Regions from separate parts of the Homo sapiens genome. Here region 1 is linked to region 2. The links are contacts of gene promoters, found by promoter capture Hi-C in blood cells and fetal thymus (Javierre and others, 2016). All regions are on one chromosome and are shown on one strand. Each heading gives the region's core, a stretch centred on a gene start or on the middle of the fragment in contact. The rest is flanking DNA. Distances are from core to core; before and after follow the strand shown.

The links. Contacts are between HindIII fragments. The CHiCAGO score rates a contact against its expected background, and 5 or more counts as called.
Region 1: a fragment that was not itself captured here is called in contact with the fragment with the promoter of KCNB1 in region 2 in 1 of 17 cell types (endothelial precursors); the score reaches 6.8 in endothelial precursors.

What each region holds. Positions count from the first base shown.
Region 1 is chr20:49,876,470-49,882,212 of GRCh38, reverse strand. SLC9A8 (solute carrier family 9 member A8) reads right to left here. Exons shown (of 16, transcript NM_015266.3): 12 at 4,150-4,232; 13 at 1,178-1,289. Among named protein-coding and RNA genes, the nearest start is that of MIR12122, 15 kb to the right of the region's middle. The HindIII fragment of the contact is 159 bases long and covers 1,349-1,507 here.
Region 2 is chr20:49,478,080-49,484,052 of GRCh38, reverse strand. It overlaps KCNB1 (potassium voltage-gated channel subfamily B member 1), which reads left to right and starts at 1,385. Exons shown (of 2, transcript NM_004975.4): 1 at 1,385-2,139. The coding sequence starts at 1,573. The HindIII fragment of the contact is 15,223 bases long and covers 1-5,973 here.

The DNA of each region.
Region 1 (5,743 bases), core at 179-2,678, 400 kb before region 2:
GGGTCTGGCCATGGCAAAAGAGGTGCGGACACAGCTGCGGGGGACATGAGGAGGAACTCTGGCTGAAGTTGCTGGTGTTTTGTGGGAAGGAGGAGAAGCTCTGATTGCTTAAATGATGATGGGAGGGGCCGGTAGCAGAGGCTTGTTCAGTGCCCCTCGTTGAGGATCCAGGAAAGCCTGGATGGAAACCCACAGAGCAAGAGCCCGGGGAGCCTGGGAGAGAACAGGAGCCGACAGCCCCCGCCATTTCAAATACACTCCAACCTTCCCCATAACGCTCTCTTATCCTCATGCCCCCCTTCCCAAATAGCCCACATCACTTCAAAAACCTCTGACACACTTCTGCAACCATTTACAAAGTAGTTTGCCTCACTGGCAAAAGAGATTAGGAAAAAAATGAGTTTTTCTCACCACATATAAATGTATATGTATATATACACATACGTACATATATATGAAACATATACATTTTTAAACATGGCCTTTTGAAAGAAGAGAAATCTGAGACAAACTTGCAGATATGCCTTTGGATAGAGAACATTATAGTGTGTTGCTATAACCCAACCCACACGGAAAATACTTTGATTATAATATTTAAGCAAGAAAGCATAAAGAACAGTATGTATTGCTCAAAAATAAATTTAAGGATGCCTATGGATCCAGTTCTTTAGAAGCAAAGATGTATGAAATCATTTCCGTCCTTTAAAAAGTGATTAAATAGCAACTGAAACATTCAAATTAAACTACTAGAACTTTGTGACTAAAAGGAAAAATATCCAAAACTAACATAAGGTATGAAACAGTTTCAACTTTCACCTTTTCTACCTTGAGACCATTATTACTTCAGCCTAGAAGACCCCCAGGGAGGCGCTGAAGCACGCCCAGCTGCATCCCGGACTGCACTATGGTGTTCAGAAGAGAGTGGCAGAAATCCCGGCTCTGCCTCCAGTGGTCACGTGACCCTGGGCATGTTGTTTGCCCTCTTCCAACCAAGCCTCACCCACTTCATAGCACCATGGTGAGGGGCACCATCTTGATTGCAGTGGGTGCCATTAAACGGGAGTATTGATTACTTGTGGTTTTGCCAAGGGCGCTAGCAGAGAACCACAGCTCTCCCTGTATGGGGCGTGCTTTTAACAGGTACTTCCCCACCCCATTTATCCAAGATTTGACTTACCACTAAACCACATGATGAACATCATCTTCGGTGTGATTTTATGATCCCGGAAGAAATTCAGGAGGTAGGAAAGAGGGAAAATGTTTACCGCTCTGCCAAATAGTACAAGCACCTGTTGATAGCAACAAACTAAGTCTTAGGTGAAAACATCTGGCTCTTCAAGCTGAAGCTTCTTGGATGAAGCTAATGCAGACTGTGTAACACATCCAGTACAAATGCAGTATTCCCCTCAGCCACAAAAGACACGAGCAACACCATGCTCGTCAGAGACCCAGCATGGGCGTGCTGCCACAGCTGCGGGATTCTATGCATCTAGGAAAGGATAAAGCTTTGTACGTTACCTTTCTTAGTAGCCAGAAAAGAGAGGACGGACGAGGTATCAGGAAGGGCTTTAGTAATGACAGCAGAACAAAACTGAATGCCAAGAGGCTGTACAGAAGTATTCACAGATTAGTTTAAGGGCAACCTGACTCCCAAGGTGCCCCTCCTTGGGACAGGGCTGCATTGATCATACCAGGACTAGGGGGACAGACAAGGTGTTTCTGCCTCTCCCTCAGGGAAAGGAGGGCAGCTATGAAGGACCTCCCATGCATGGAAACACTGCTCTCTGAGCAAGAGGAACGCAGAGGTAGGGACTATCAGGAGGCCACATGCCCCGGCTTAGCCTGCCAGCTGCTTGCTGTGGCTTTTGGTTCCTCTCCATCTCCAAAGGCATGTTAGTCTTGGCAAAGTACAGCTTTATGTAAAGTTTACATCTTTTTTTTTTTTTTTTGAGACAAAGTCTCACTCTGTCTCGCATGCTGGAGTGCAGTGGTGTGATTGTGGCTCAATGCAACCTCAACCTCCTGGGCTCCAGTGATCCTCCCACCTTAACCTCCCAAGTAGCTAGAACTACAGGTATGCACCACCATGCCTGGCTACTTTTTAAAATTTTTTAGTTAAAGATGAGGTCTTGCTATGTTGCCCAGGCTGGTCTCAAACTCCTGGTCTCAAGCAATCCTCCTGCCTTTGCCTCCCAAAGTGCTAGGATTACAGGTGTGAGCCACTGCACCCAGCCTAAAGTTTAAATCTTATCTAAGTGGATTCTTAGGACATTTATTACTTTACTTTCATTTTCTTCATCTTGGTTCTCACCATAACTACTTGAAAAGGATGATATAGACATGTACAGTACATTCTTTAGGCTTTAAGTTTATTCCTTTAACAAGCATGAATTTGAGAGTTTTTTTTTTTTTTGAGATGGAGTGCTGTGGCGTGATCTTGGCTCACTGCAACCTCTGCCTCCCGGGTTCAAGCAATTGTCCTGCCTCAGCCTCCCTAGTAGCTGGGATTACAGGCGTGTGCTACCATGCCCGGCTAATTTTTGTATTTTTAGTAGAGACGGGGTTTCGCCAAGTTGGCCAGGCTGGTCTCAAACTGCTGACCTCAAGTGATCCACCCGCCTCAGCCTCCCAAAGTGCTGGGATTATAGGCGTGAGCCACCATGCCTGGCCAAGAGTAAATGTTTCCAATCATCAAACATTTCTATGCCAGACAACATGCTAATCATTTTACATGCATTATCCTGCTAAATTTAAATCCTTGCAAAGGTCTTACAAAGTAGGTATTGTTGTCTCCAGTTTATAGACAAGGAAACTGAGGTATAGAGAGATGAAGTAATTGGTCCAAGTTGACAAGGCAGGAAGTAATGGATCCAAGTCTCAAATCTGGTTCAGACCCCAAAGCCCATGCTCTTGACCACTAAATTGAGTTTACAGGGCAGGAACTGTAACCCACCTGAATAGGCCATCTCCACTAGCTGCAGGGCCAGCCTGGGCCTAACTGCTTAGAGAAAACTGAGTTGTCACCCCAGGGCATCCTTTCATTTTCCTCCCAACCTGTGGCTGAAATAGTCACCTCCCTGTTTCACCCACTGAAATCCAATCTTCCATGCCTACACTTGTTTCAGGTTTGATCAAATGTGTCCCTTTTCCCCAGTGGCCACACTAAAGGCTATTATACTTTTTTTTTTTGAGATGGACTTTCGCTCTTTTTGCCCAGGCTGGGGTGCAAATGGCATGATCTCAGCTCACTGCACTGCAACCTCCGCCTCCCGGGTTCAAGCGATTCTCCTGCCTCAGCCTCCTGAGTAGCTGGAATTACAGGCGCATATCACCACGCCCGGCTAATTTTGTATTTTTAGTAGAGATGGGGTTTCACCATGTTTGCCAGGCTGGTCTCAAACTCCTGACCTCATGATCCGCCAGCCTCGGCCTCCCAAAGTGCTGAGATTACAGGTGTGAGCCACCGCGCCCAGCCTAGGCTATTATACTTTCTGTAAAGGACTTTTGCTGCTTCTCTCTTGCCCTGAAACCTGAGTTTGGAGGACAAATAACAGTGACCAAGAGCAATGAGCTCTTGCTGACTGAGAGATGGAAGTACCCAGGTTGCAGGAACAATATCTTATAAACAGACAAATAGACAAATATAAATAGACAAATTTGAAGAAAACTGCAGTAAGAAGTACATAATAAATTATCCAGAAAAAGCAGAAAAGAGAAAGAAATCCCAACTCTATGACCACTGTGAACATGTGGCTATATTTTCTTTACATATTTTCTTTTTTCTGTGCATAATATTTTTACATGGTTATGATCAATTACATATTCAATTTTGAAATCTGCTTTTACCTCCTCACACAAAAACTTACAAACCTGTACTTTTATTTAAAGACCATAATATTCAAGGCCATTAAAAATCTTAAAAAACAAGCAAAAGTCCTTTCTGGGGATATTTATTCACTTAATTCTACCCCTGCCCCCTTACTGTATGTTTGTGATTTTTTTTTTTTAACAAAAGAAACTTTAAACAAAAGAGTGTCTATGTAGCTGTTGACTTTGAACAGTTAACAGTTACATAAATGAATCCGGAACATGTGTTTATTGATCTACAAATAAGTAATTAAATTTAAAAAAAAAAAGGAAAATACTTACTATGCACCAGATGACAAAGGAAATTTCAAACTTGTGAGGAAAACTAAAAATGGACAGGCCAAGAAATGCAAACACACATGTTTCTGAAACAAACCAAAGAATGGATTATTCAACCCCAATGATTTCATTCCAATATGGTACTAAACTATTAAGCAAGCAAACATTCACAGTCAGAATCCAATACAACACTTTCCTTATTTTCTTGAAAATCCTGCAGCCAATATCTTGGTCAAACTTGTGCTTAAATTCTCTCATTCTTTTCTATTACATAAGCTACATGTCCCTGGTATTCAGAAATCTCTTAATGTAATGAGTCAACTGTCAAATACTTCTGCAAATAAACACGATCCCACCCAGGGAAGATGATAAACACAAGAATCTGTCAATCTGCTGAACACTGTCATTAGCAAGGGCCCCAACTGCGGCAAAGTGGCAAAAATTCAGAGCAAATGACTGCAGACGCCACATGACAAATGTGAAGGGGCCTCTGGTTAACTTCCACATGATTAGCTTAATATATTTAACACTGCCACAAGGTTTAGAACACAGCTCACACCCAGCAGGATTTGCAGAGTGAGACTCATTGCTAACTCCTGGCTCCACTCTGCGAGCCAAAAAGAGCCCAATATTTACTCTCTGTCACACAAACTTGTATATATTAAGAAAAAGCACCTTATAAATTTCTAACACTAGGCTCTCTGCTTAAACTGTGATGGCCCTCAGAACAGCATAATGACTAAAGAGATTAAAACTGTATATATATTTTTTTAGAGACAGAGTCTCACTCTGTCTCCCAAGCTGGAATGTAGTGGCACGATCTCGGCTCACTGCAACCTCCGCCTCCTGGGTTCAAGCAATTCTCCTGCCTCAGCCTCCCAAGCAGCTGGGATTACAGGCGCTCGCCACCACGCCCAGCTATTTTTTTTTTTTTTTTTTTCAGTAGAGACAGGGTTTCACTGTGTTGGCCAGGCTGGTCTCAAACTCCTGACCTTGTGATCCGCACACCTTGGCCCCCCTCAAAGTGCTGGGATTACAAGCATAAGCCACCGCGCCTGGCCTAAAACTGTATTTTAAAATAGTTGATCACAAACAGCAAGGCTGTTTTACATTCTAACAATGTTTTTCCTTTGAATGGTACCCAAGTTTAAAACAAGTCCACAAGCTGGAGAATTTACCCCCCCTTCTCTCTCTGAAATTTTTTTCTTATCTAATATTTGTGTGATCTTTCCAAATGAGCACATTTAGAAGACATTCAGATCTAGTGGATGCTTTTCCCTGGCAGCATCAACTCCAGGATCTGGATACATCACGGTATCCATTTGCTCTGAATTTCTGCCACTTTGCCACAGTTGGGACCCTTGCTAATGAAGGTGTTCAGTAAACAGGCAGAATTGTGTTTATCATCTTCCCTTGGCGGGATAATGTTTATTTGCAGAGAAATTTGACAGTTTTTCTGTCACATTTGACAAATTGTCAAAATTCGACAATTTTTCTAATGCCCAATCCTCTATGGATGGATATTTAGACTGTTTTTATTTCTGAGAGGTTCAACAAACACCCCAGTATGGGCTAAATTCCACAGGGTTGGACTGTT
Region 2 (5,973 bases), core at 136-2,635:
GGGTAGGCCCGGCTCAGCCCGGCCCCGGGACCGCCGCTGCCCACGGGCGGGGGCGCCCGGGCGGCCGGGACGATGCGCGGTCCCTGGCCCCAGGAGGCGGCCGCCCTGGGGGTGAGTGTTGGGGCGTACGGCCTTCCGTGGGGGTGCATGGGGACACGGACAGGGGGTTTGCCTGCCGCAGCTCGGCCTGTTGGTCTGCTCGGGCTCCGCAGCTCCAGGCTGGAGGGGAGCGGGGTGGGAGGCAGGCAAGGGCTGAGGCCTGAGGGGACGCGCAATCCCCATTCTGGGGCTAAGGCGTGAGCCCTACATGCAGGGGGTGCTCAGGGGAACCCCCCGAAATCACTAGTGCGCGGTAGGAGGATGGCACCTTTTGAAAAGGCCAGAAAATTTAGCTCATTTCCCCGCCTCCCACCTCCCCCACCCCTTCCCTTCCAAGCCCGGGGAAAGGCGCAGAACCCGGAGTTATAAAAAGCCATCGCGGGAGAGGAACGAGGAGGAGGAGTAGGAGGAGGAGGAGGAGGAGGAGGAAGAGGAGGAGGAGGGGGAGAAGGAAGAGGAGGGGGAGGAGAAGGAGGAGAAGGGGGCGGGGAAGGAGCGAGGGGAGGACGGAGCAGGCGGATCCCGAGGACTCTGCCCGCCCCTCCTGCGGTAGGGTTGGGGGCTCAGAGGGAGAGGCGAGAGCGGGCTTTTCCTCCTCGCGGCTCACCTTGTCGCTGGAGCAATCTCAGGAGATGCTCCAGTGTTTGGGAAGAGGGGTCGCTCCAGGACAGAGGGGCTGTTGTGCACACCCCGTCTGTTGTGACCTCGGACAGGTGGGCACCTGGAACCCCCGGAATTCCCCCAAATCTTTTAAGATTTGGAAAAAAGCCCGCTGCCATTCCCCCACCCCCAAAATCTTGATTATCTCGAGAAGGGGAAGGAAAAGAAGAGAACTCGTTAAAAAAAAAAAAAAGAAGGAAAGAAGAAGAAGAAAGAAAGAAAAAGATAAAGAAAGAAAGTTTTCATGCAGCTCCCCCTCTCTCCCCATGGCGGGGCCAGGTTCGGGACTCGATCGGGAGACCCATAATGAAGAGAGTTTCAGCACTCTAAGGGGCGGACAGCGCCCCGGGCGGCTGGGTCGCGCCTGGGCCGCAGAAGCCCAGGGTGGGGCCTCCCGGGCTCCAGGGGCATCTCTTGGGGCCCTCTCCCCGCCCCGAGGGGCGGCCCCTCCCTCCATCCATGGGGTGCGGCGGACTTCAGCACCGGCGGGAGGGACAGCGACCATCCGTCCTACCCCACTGAGCCGCTTAAGCGCGGGGGAAGGTCAAGGCCGGCTGGGAGCCTGGTGGAGAGGTGGGGGGCGGGGGGACAGCATGCCCAGCTCCCCGTTTGCTGACCCGCGTCCGCTTTCGCTTTCTGCCTCGCAGCCGTCGGGATGGAGGTGAGAAGACGGCCGTGACGCGCGCCCGCGGGGCCCCCTGCACCCCCAGCAGCCCACAGCGCTCCCTGCCCCCCTCCCCCGCAGCAGCGGGCCTTGCCGTCGAGTGACAGCGGCCTGGGGGGGCAGGGGGGGCGGGGGCGGCCGGATCAGCGATGCCGGCGGGCATGACGAAGCATGGCTCCCGCTCCACCAGCTCGCTGCCGCCCGAGCCCATGGAGATCGTGCGCAGCAAGGCGTGCTCTCGGCGGGTCCGCCTCAACGTCGGGGGGCTGGCGCACGAGGTACTCTGGCGTACCCTGGACCGCCTGCCCCGCACGCGGCTGGGCAAGCTCCGCGACTGCAACACGCACGACTCGCTGCTCGAGGTGTGCGATGACTACAGCCTCGACGACAACGAGTACTTCTTTGACCGCCACCCGGGCGCCTTCACCTCCATCCTCAACTTCTACCGCACTGGGCGACTGCACATGATGGAGGAGATGTGCGCGCTCAGCTTCAGCCAAGAGCTCGACTACTGGGGCATCGACGAGATCTACCTGGAGTCCTGCTGCCAGGCCCGCTACCACCAGAAGAAAGAGCAGATGAACGAGGAGCTCAAGCGTGAGGCCGAGACCCTACGGGAGCGGGAAGGCGAGGAGTTCGATAACACGTGCTGCGCAGAGAAGAGGAAAAAACTCTGGGACCTACTGGAGAAGCCCAATTCCTCTGTGGCTGCCAAGGTGAGTCTGGGATCTGGGGGCTGCTGGTCTGGGGGGATCTGCTTGCATCCCCATATTGAGGACCACTGCTGGAGGACTCTGGCTTTGTTCCCAACGATGAAGATTAGTAATGGGGAGGGGCTAGGACTGAGTCCCCAGAGGTGAGGACCAACCCCCTCAGACTTTTCCCATGTGGCACTGGTCACTCCATCTTTTTATTATCCAAGACGTTATACCCCTACTTGGTTGGAGAGGTTTCACAGGGACCCATAAAAAGCCACAGCAAGAAGATGGACACTGACGAATAAGAGAGAGAGCACAGAGAGACAACAGTGGCTTGCTGGGGTGGAGTAGGGTTTGCTTCCCTGTGAAGTCCCAGACCTAGGCTGGATTGGATCACCCTGTGATTTTAATATCTCCATATTTATAACCTCACTCTGCCCCAGCAAGGGAAAAAAGCAGCTTACAGACATGCTTACAGGACATTGAGATACTGTCAGATAGTTTAAACATAAGTAAGAAGGGACCCCGAGGGGTGGGTGTGGACCCACACGACACATGCAGTTGGTTGTGGATGCTTGCGGGTGAGGGGTCACCCCCTGGTTACTTATTTATTTGGTGAGTTTATTTCCAGAATGGTTTGGTGCAGCTTGTAAAGATGTTTCAGCTCTTGGAACAAGATGTAAATTTCAAAATAGGAGAGAAAAATGAGGCAATGTGAAAAATAAAGGAGGAGGAGGAGGAGGAGGCAGGAATGAGTTTGAACACAAAGAGTGGGCCAGAGAGTCTTTGGTGCTGCTGGGTAATGGCAGGGGCTGTAGGGGACTGAGGAAGGCTTGGGGTGGGAGCCAAGGCAGGGCAGGAGGGCACTGGTTGATCAGCAACTTCTCTACGTCAGGCTGGGATTTGGGGTTGCCTGGGAAAGATGGGGCCTGTCTTCATGTGCCCGAAGTGCTGGGTGCTGGGAGCAAATGACAAAACAGTGTGTGCAAGGCTATAAAAGAGGTTCTGTGAGGTTCACGGAGAACCCAGAAAAGAGAGATGTTGATGTTGAAATCCAGCAAGACCAACTTGGGAAACATGGGGAGAATGTAACTGAGTGTGGGGCCTAAAAAAAGGGGTCAGGTAAGTAGATTTGTGGTAAAAGAAAGAGGAGAGGAGGAAGCCTAAATATCCAGCCATATCTTACTAGCTAGGGCTGACTCCTGTCCAGCCCAGCCTTTCATTGTGGGGTCTCCGGCTCAGTTCTCACTGAAGGCCCACCTGCAGGTCCCAGTCTGAAGGGAGACTCCGTGGGGTCCTTCCTCCAGATCTAGCCACCCAAGGAGAGGCCCCTGAGAGTGGATGGAGAAGGGGTGGCTGGTAAGAGGGTGGAGGGAGCCCCCACGTGTTTTTTTCGTTTCCCTGTTGGCCCTAACAAGGATGTAGAGGCTCCTGGGCCTGGCTTCCTCCTCTGAGGCTGTGGGCTGTCTCTCTCCATAATCCCGCCCCCAATTTTGTGTCCAAAAAGCCTCCTCCTAAGACAGAGTCACTCACCCTTAATCAGCTTAGGATCAACAGACTTATTTTGCTATTTCCAGGCATGACACAGGTTCTCCCACTGCACATCCCATTTAGGCCCAAATGTGACTCTCCCTCCCTGTCCCATCCCTAAGACATGAGAACAAGGTACAGGGAACTGGACAATTTGCCCTCCCAGAGAAGAAGCAGGCACAGGGCCATGTTTTGGTCTGGCAGCAAGACCCAAGCACCGGGGCTTGCAAGAGGTGCTGTTTGGGAATAAAGAACCTCTCCTCTCCCTTGGGTTAATCCGCTAGCAGGGACAGCCTTGTGACCTCTCCATGATCCCAGTCTGGGGCTGCCAGCTCACATTCCTGGCAGATGGACCATCTAGGATTTTCTGTAGCCAGAGCTGAAATGGGGAGGGAGGCAGGCTCACTGGCCCTCAGAATAGAAATCCTGGCTGCCAATGATCAAACACCTACTGTGTATGGAGTGTAACAACGCAGCTCTGTTATTATCCCACCTTTCGCAAACAGTGAGGCTGAAAGAGGTTAAGTAACTTGCCTAAGGTCACACCACAGGCAGTCAGGAGTAGCCAGAAATCCAAACCGAGTGTTCTTTCTATAATGATCAAGTGCCGCAGCCTCCTCCCCAGTCTCCCGGCTTCCACTTTTGCCCCTGCAATCCATTCCCCACATAGCAGCCAAAGTGAGCTTTTCAAAATGTAAATTGGATCACATTATTCATCTGCTTAAAATCCTCCAGAAGTTTCCCATCACACTCAAAATAAAATTCAGACTTTTCATCCTGGCATACAAGGCCCAGGCAGAATCTGGCCCCCATGACCTCTCTGGGCTCATCTCTTTTGATCTCCTCTGGTTCACTTGGCTCCAGCCCCACTGGCCTTGCTGTTCCATAAACAGGCCAGAGTTTATCTGACCTCAGGACCCTTGCACTTGCTGTTTCCGCTGCCTGGAATGCTCTTCCCCAGATTCCCCCTTGGCCAGCCCCTTCTCCCCCTTCCTCATTTGAGCAGGTCCCTGCTCACATGTCCCCTCCTCATACAGACCTTCCTTGACCGCTGTTCTAAACAGTTTCCCTCCCCTCACTCTCTGTTGCATCATGCAATGCCTTTCCTGCAGAGGCCTTAAACGCCATCTGAAATTATATTTCCTTCTTTGTGTGTCTCTGTTTCACACCCACAAGAATGTGAGTACCATGAGTTGATTCACTGCTTGATTCCCAGCACCCATGATGGTGCCTGGCACTGAGGAGCATGTGGAATGAATAAATGAATGAATGAACGAATGAATGAATGAACGAATGAATGAATCAAGCAAGCAAGCAAGCAGTCAGTCACTGTGTCTCAGGGTTTGGGGACCTGTCACCCCTTCTCACTGCCCACCTGCAACCCAGGTCCCTGTGCCTCTGGCCTCCTTTGAGTCATCTGCACCTTGCCCATCCCATCCCCACCCATCCCCCCAGCTTGGATGCCTTGCTTGTCAAAACAAGCAAAGCCTGTGGAAATTGCTTAGAACTCACAGAGTGACAGGACCAAATGGAGGATCATTTCTAGGTGATTGTAAGATACAAAAGTGGCCATATCTCATATGCTGAAGAGCAAGGATGGATCTGGTTCTGTGCCACTCCCCACTTCCATAGCTTTTAGCTAATTTCTCCAACTTTCCAAGTCCCAACCTTCCACCTGTAAAATGGAGATAAAAGGCTCACCTTACAGGGTCTTCATTAAATCACATTTGTCAAAATTTTGCTCAAAGCCTAGCACATAGCAGGTGGGGATTGTTGTTATAAATGCTAAGGAAAAGAGTCTTTTTTCTAGGGCTGGGTGGGCCGAGTTGCTGCAAACCCTTTCCTTCTGAGAGCAGCAGGGCCAGGGAGACTGAGCTGACACTGTTAATAATTGATGGGATGTTCTGGCAACTCGGAGACAAACCAAAGCACAGGCCCTAGGCTTTGCCATCAGGGGAGCGAAAATCAAAACCCATTAGGCAAAAGGCAGTGTGATTGATTCTTGTTTAGAAGATGGGGACAGCCCCATTGGTGTGACAGGGTTGCGGTGCTGGGGCTACCACGGGGCTTTGGCTTTCTCGGAAAACTCGACAGGCTTTTCTCAGTAGGAGAGACAGGGAACTGATTTGCCAGCCCAGGAGTGTCTGTGATCCCTGGGATAGTCTCAGGATTAAAGCCCTGAGATAACTTCCTAATTTCCAGGGTAGCTTATGTTTGTTGTGCCCAGCACTGATTAGTGGTGCTTCATATCTGCTATCTCATTGAAATTCCTCCAACAGGGATACAACCAGGTAGTATGCCAGTTAGGGATGCTTTGGGCTG